2 separate regions of the Homo sapiens genome follow, and region 2 is linked to region 1. The links are contacts of gene promoters, found by promoter capture Hi-C in blood cells and fetal thymus (Javierre and others, 2016). All regions are on one chromosome and are shown on one strand. Each heading gives the region's core, a stretch centred on a gene start or on the middle of the fragment in contact. The rest is flanking DNA. Distances are from core to core; before and after follow the strand shown.

The links. The method cuts DNA at HindIII sites, captures the fragments that hold promoters and counts their contacts. A CHiCAGO score of 5 or more calls a contact.
Region 2: a fragment that was not itself captured here is called in contact with the fragment with the promoter of PCYOX1L in region 1 in 1 of 17 cell types (activated CD4 T cells); the score reaches 7.7 in activated CD4 T cells.

Annotation. Positions count from the first base shown.
Region 1 is chr5:149,356,576-149,359,511 of GRCh38, forward strand. It overlaps PCYOX1L (prenylcysteine oxidase 1 like), which reads left to right and starts at 1,471. Exons shown (of 6, transcript NM_024028.4): 1 at 1,471-1,581. The coding sequence starts at 1,494. GRPEL2-AS1 (GRPEL2 antisense RNA 1) reads right to left here and starts at 1,067. Exons shown (of 2, transcript NR_132366.1): 1 at 950-1,067. RefSeq lists an enhancer at 1,231-1,525 and silencers at 1,251-1,300, 1,321-1,480, 1,501-1,710. The HindIII fragment of the contact is 1,565 bases long and covers 1,145-2,709 here.
Region 2 is chr5:149,961,761-149,964,654 of GRCh38, forward strand. All of the region lies in intron 1 of SLC26A2 (solute carrier family 26 member 2), which reads left to right. Among named protein-coding and RNA genes, the nearest start is that of SLC26A2, 2.4 kb to the left of the region's middle. The HindIII fragment of the contact is 1,313 bases long and covers 986-2,298 here.

The DNA.
Region 1 (2,936 bases), core at 221-2,720:
TTGTTTTTGTTTGAGTCAGAGTCTCGCTCTGTCACCCACGGTGGAGTGCAGTGGTACAATCTCGGCTCACTGCAACATGTGCCTCCCAGGTTCAAGCGATTCTCCTGCCCCAGCCTCCCGAGTAGCTGGGATTACAGGCGCACACCACCAAGCCCAGCTAATTTTTGCATTTTAGCAGAGATGAGGTTTCACCATGATGGCCGAGCTGGTCTCGAACTCCTGACCTCAAGTGATCTGCCCACCTCGGCCTCCCAAACTGCTGGGATTACAGGCATGAGCCACTGTGCCCGGCCCAGTTTCTTATTTTAGCCATAATCTCACTGAGTAAATATGGATTTCATTTATTTTTATATATTTATTTATTTTTAAAGACAGGGACTCTTGTCACTCAGGCTGGAGTGCAGTGGCACAATCATAGAACACTGTAACCTCAAACTACCGGTCTCAAGCCTCCCACCTCTGCCTCCTGAATAGCTAGGACTACAGGTGTGCACCACCACTCCTGGCGAATTTTTTTTTTTTAAGAGACGGGGTCTCAGAGTCTCATTATGTTGCCCAGGCTGGTCTCAAACTGCTGGCCTAAGCGATCCTCCCGCCTGACCTTCCAAAATGCTGGGATTACAGGCTTGAGCCACCCCCAGCCTCCGGATTTTCTTTATTCTGAAACTCATCCCTAACTTTATTTTCTGCCAGAGGAAGTCTGTTTTTCACAGCGTGATAAACTAGCAAGTCTGAGCTGCTGCTCTTGTCTTCTTAGAGGATGAAAATGGGAGTTTATCCCTCCTTTTCTCCTTTCTGAAAAGAGAGTAGATGAAACCTTCCCCCGCCTTTTGGTTTTTAGGAAGCAGAAAGCAGAGATATTAACTATATAAAAACTGCAAACACATAAATAACAGCAGTATAGAAAGCATAGGGCTTGTGTCAGCATATGAATGAGGTAGCGTCTTACCACCCTGGCCGCATGCTTGGTCAGCAATTTCCAGCACTTGCAGACACTGCAAAAGGCTTCCCTTATCTCATAAGATGGTTACAACCACCTAGAAAGGTGGAGCAGGATTCTTCGTCTGTGTTATAATAGAGGAAACAGACACAGAGAAGATACAGAGCTAATAACGCAGAGGCTGGACATAACCGAGGTCTTCAAAGCTTCACTTTGGTCTGTTTCATCCCTCTGCCGCAGCTGGGCCCTGGTCCTGATGCTGAGGACCCGAAGCGGGCACACCTGCGCCGGGCAAGAATGAACCCAGCCAATGAGGAGCCCGCATGCGGGGGGCGGGGCGGAACGGGGAAGCTGCCAATGAGAGAGCCTACCCCGAGAGAGATGGAGCTAATGAGGGCCTCGTGCTGGAGAGGGACGGCGGCTTGGCCAATGCGGAGCTGGGTCTGGCGCGGCAGGAAGGCGGGACTGCCAGTGGGGCGCCGGGGCGGGGCGGAGAGCCGAGCGCCAACCCGCTAGCGCCTGAATCCGGCGTGCTGCCCGCTCGCCGCCCGCCATGGCCCGCGCAGCCCCGCTGCTCGCCGCGTTGACCGCGCTCCTCGCCGCCGCCGCTGCTGGCGGAGATGCCCCGCCGGGCAAAATCGGTGCGGGAAGGACGCGGTGGGGTTCCCAGCTGGGGAGGGCCGGCGGGTAAAGGGTTCTCAGTTCTCAGCTAGGTGGGGTATAGGAGGGCGGCTGGGTGAGGGAGGGGTCCTCGGAAAAGGAGCTGGGTGGAGGAGAGGCGCCGAAGGGGACGCGGCAGGGAAGGTCCTGATGGGGCCGGGGCATGGCATGTGAAGAGGGCCACCTAGGACGGAAAAGAGGCCTGGGCAGGACTGGCCGCGGATCTCACCGGGAGGTCCAGGGTCGCTGAGCATCTGCCATGGTCCTGGCTGTTGGCTAGGCGCCCGGGTGACAGAGGACAGAGAGGCTGGGCGATGGCATTCACAGAGGTTGGTTGAGGGCTCTCTGTGTAGCAGACGTGGTGCTGTAGTTCCTGCTGGGGTAGAGCCCTCACAGTACAGGGAAGTCCGTGCTGAGCTGAGGAAGTACGGTGCATGCAGAGGAGGGGCGCTTCACCCTGTCTTTGCGGCCCTGGGAGGGCTTCCTGGAAGTAACATCTAAGCCAAACCACCCCCAGGTCGATAGGAGACAGTCCTGGCAGAGACAGAACACTAGGTCCGCTGGAGATTTGCTGACAGAACGGGGAACTTTTAACAACAGTCTTTTTGTTTATTGTGTGTGTGGTTTCCCCAATACTTTATTTTGAAAATGTTCAGATGTACAGCAAGAATTTTATAGTGGTCATCTGTATACCCACCACCTACATTCTGCCATTAACTGCTGCTATACTTGCTGTGTCACATAACTATCACGCACTGTTCTAGACATCCACGAATCCAGCCTACATTTTGATGCATCTCCAAATAAATTGCAGACATCAGGACACCTCACTAAATACGTCATCGTGCATATCATTGACTAGAGTGTCATATGTGTTTACAGTTGCTTTTTTTTTTCCTCCCTCAACAACTGTCATTTTAACTACATGACTCGTGAAGATTTTCAAGTCCCTCACACGTGATATTCCCACAGGCAGAGATCCTGGGCTTCGGGGTGGGAGGACAAAGACTCTATTCCGCTAGGCCACTCTCCATGCACCCCAGTTGGCAGGAGTGCCTGGAACATCTGATAGAAGCATCACAAACTTACAGGGTCCAGTGCAGTGCTAAAGCTTCTTGTGTAGCAGAACCACAGCCCAGGCCATACAGGGTTAAGAAGACTGAAGCATGCCAGAAACCAGTTTGAGACTGAGAGTTTAGTGCTTGCCAAGAAAAGAGAATCCTGAGGCTAGAGTAGCCAGAGAAGCCCTCATGGAGAAGGTGGAGTTTGAGCCAGGCATTGAAGGATGTGGAAGAGTTAGGCAGGCAGTATCCATGAGTGACCATGTGTTCTCTCT
Region 2 (2,894 bases), core at 392-2,891, 610 kb after region 1:
AGATTAAGCAGAACTTTTTGTTTTTGAAAATTGAATCAATAAGAAATGGAGGGCCAAAGCTGTGGGAAAGGAATGGACCCTTTAAAATCAGGAATCTCAAGGCAGGATATAGCAAGGGACAGAGACTAATAGCTGTCGTTTATTGAGTAAATGCTATGTGCCAGGCACTGTGGTAGGTAGTTGTGTTAGCCTTACAAACCAGCAAGTTAGGTAATGTTACCCCATTTTACAGGTCAGAAATTGATGCTGAGTACAGTGAAGTTTTACAAAACCATTGCCATATGACTGCTGAGCAGTATAGCTGGGATCTGAACAGAGATCTGTTTGACTTCCAGAACACATCCAGTGATTCTCCAAGTGTGGTCCTAAGCTCACTCGTTCAGCATCATCTAGCGTGTGGAGTCCTGGATCTCATCCTTGGATTTGCAGGGATGGTCCTAAGAAGCTAACGGCTCTCTGTATTTGACAATTATTGTACTGTAATGTGCTGCCTCCTAGGGGAAGATCTAGAGGTGAACATACTCTGGGCTAGGGGTAATTTTTGAGGGAAAAAAATCACTTTTTTTTAATTTCTGATTTGACTTTTTTTTTTTTTGAGACCAGGTCTTACTCTGTCATCCGGGCTAGGAGTGCAGGGGCGCGATCTAGGCTCACTGCAGCATTGACCTCGTGGGTTCAAGCAAACCTTCCACCTCAGCTTCCTGAGTAGCTGGAACCACAGGTGCACGCTGCCATACCTGGCTAGTTTTTGTAGTTTTTGTAGAGATGGTGTTTCACCATGTTGCCCAGTCAGGTTTCAAACTCCTGAGCTCAAGCAATCCTCCTGCCTTGGCCTTCCAAAGTGCTGGGATTACAGGCATGAGCCACTGTGCCCTGCCCACACTTTTATTTTTTATTTTCCCCCATGATTGACAGAAGGATAATCACGCTTTTAGTGAATGTAAACCCCCAGGCAGATGCTTGCCAAGCTTAATTTCTTGACATAAGCTTGGTTTTGGCATGTGGGGGCGGAAGAGTGGGGTTGGAGAGTTAAGTGAGAATGGGGAAAGTAACTCCTTTTTCCTTATCATATAGCTGTTAAATTCTAATTCACTCAACAGATACTTGCTAAGCATTTATTAGGTGCAAGACATGTTCAAGACACTGAGAATACAGCTTTGAACAAAACAGAGCAAGTCAGTGCCCTCATGTGAAAGACAATTAACAATGTGTGGTATGGAATGGTGAGAAGAGCTATGGAGAAAAATAAAGGGCATAGGAGTGCAAGGCAGGGCTGGGCCCAGGAGGAAGACATGGAAATGGCAGCAATGGCAGTGGTGCTATATTTATTTATTTATTTATTTATTTATTTATTTATTTATTTTTTGAGATGGAGTTTCACTCTTGTTGCCCAGGCTGGAGTGCGGTGGCGCCATCTTGGCTCACTGCAATCTCTGCCTCCTGGGTTCAAGTGATTCTCCTTTGTCAGCCTCCCAAGTAGCTGGGATTACAGGCACATGCCACCACGCCTGGCTAATTTTTTTTTTTTTCTTTTTTTGAGACAGAGTCTCACTTTGTCTCCAGGCCGGAGTGCAGTGGCGTGATCTTGGCTCACTGCAACCTCTGCCTCCCAGGTTCAGGTGATTCTCCTGCCTCAGCCTCCTGAGTAGCTGGGACCACAGGCATGTGCCACCACGTCCGGCTAATCTTTTTATTTTTAGTAGAGACGGGGTTTCACCATGTTGGCCAGGATGGTCTCAATTTCATGACCTCGTGATCCGCCTGCCTCCGCCTCCCAAAGTACTGGGATTACAAGCGTGAGCCACCGCGCCTGGCCTAATTTTTTGTATTTTTTAGTAGAGAGGGGGTTTCACCATGTTGGCCAGGCTGGTCTCGAACTCCTGGCCTCAGGTGATCCACCTGCCTTGGCCCCCCAAAGTGCTAGGATTACAGGCATGAGCCCCTGCACCCGGCCTGCTATTTTGCATATTTGTTTAACTTTTTTTTTTTTTTTTTTTTTTTTGTGGAGACAAGATCTTGCTATGTTACCCAGGCTGGTCTCGAACTCCTGGCCTCAAAGTGATCTTCCTGCCTTGGCCTCTCAAAGCGCTGGGATTACAGACATGAACCACTGTGCCTGGCCTCTGTTTTATATATTGTATCTAGGAAGGGACCGATTTATATAAGGTGTCATTTGAGGTTGGGCAATGAGCAAAGGCCCCAAGGGCAAAGGCTGCTTGATATTTTCATGGACTGGTGATTGGAACACTAGTGCATAGGAGGAAGCAAGACAGTGGCAGTTTTAGGCTCATGCATAGAAGCTTATACCAATGTTTTTAGACCATATTTGGTAGGAGATAGGGAGCCAGTGCAGATTTTTGGGGAGCATATCCAAATGGTTGACCTCATCTTGCTAATGAATGCTTCTTTTGAAGAAGAGGCATAGTGCTTTAAAAATGTAGGTTCAGGCTGGGCTCTTCCTTTGCTCATGCCTATAATCCCAGCAATTTGGGAGGCCGTGGCAGGCAGATCACTTGAGCTCAGGAGTTCAAGACCAGCCTGGACAACACGGCGAAAACCTGTCTCTACAAAAAATACAAAAAAATAGCTGGGCATGGTGGCGTGCACTTGTGATCCCAGCTACTCAGGATCGCTTGAGCCCAGGAGGTGGAGGTTGCAGTGAGCTGAGATCATGCCACTGCACTCCAGCCTGGGTAACAGAGTGAGACCCCATCTCAAAAATAAAAATAAAAAATAGCCAGGCGTGGTGGCTCACGCCTGTAATCCTAGCACTTTAGGAGGCCGAGGCGGGCGGATCACGAGGTCAGGAGCTCGAGACCATCCTGGCTAACACGGTGAAACTCTGTCTCTACTAAAAATACAAAAAATTAGCCAGGTGTGGTGGCGGGCACCTG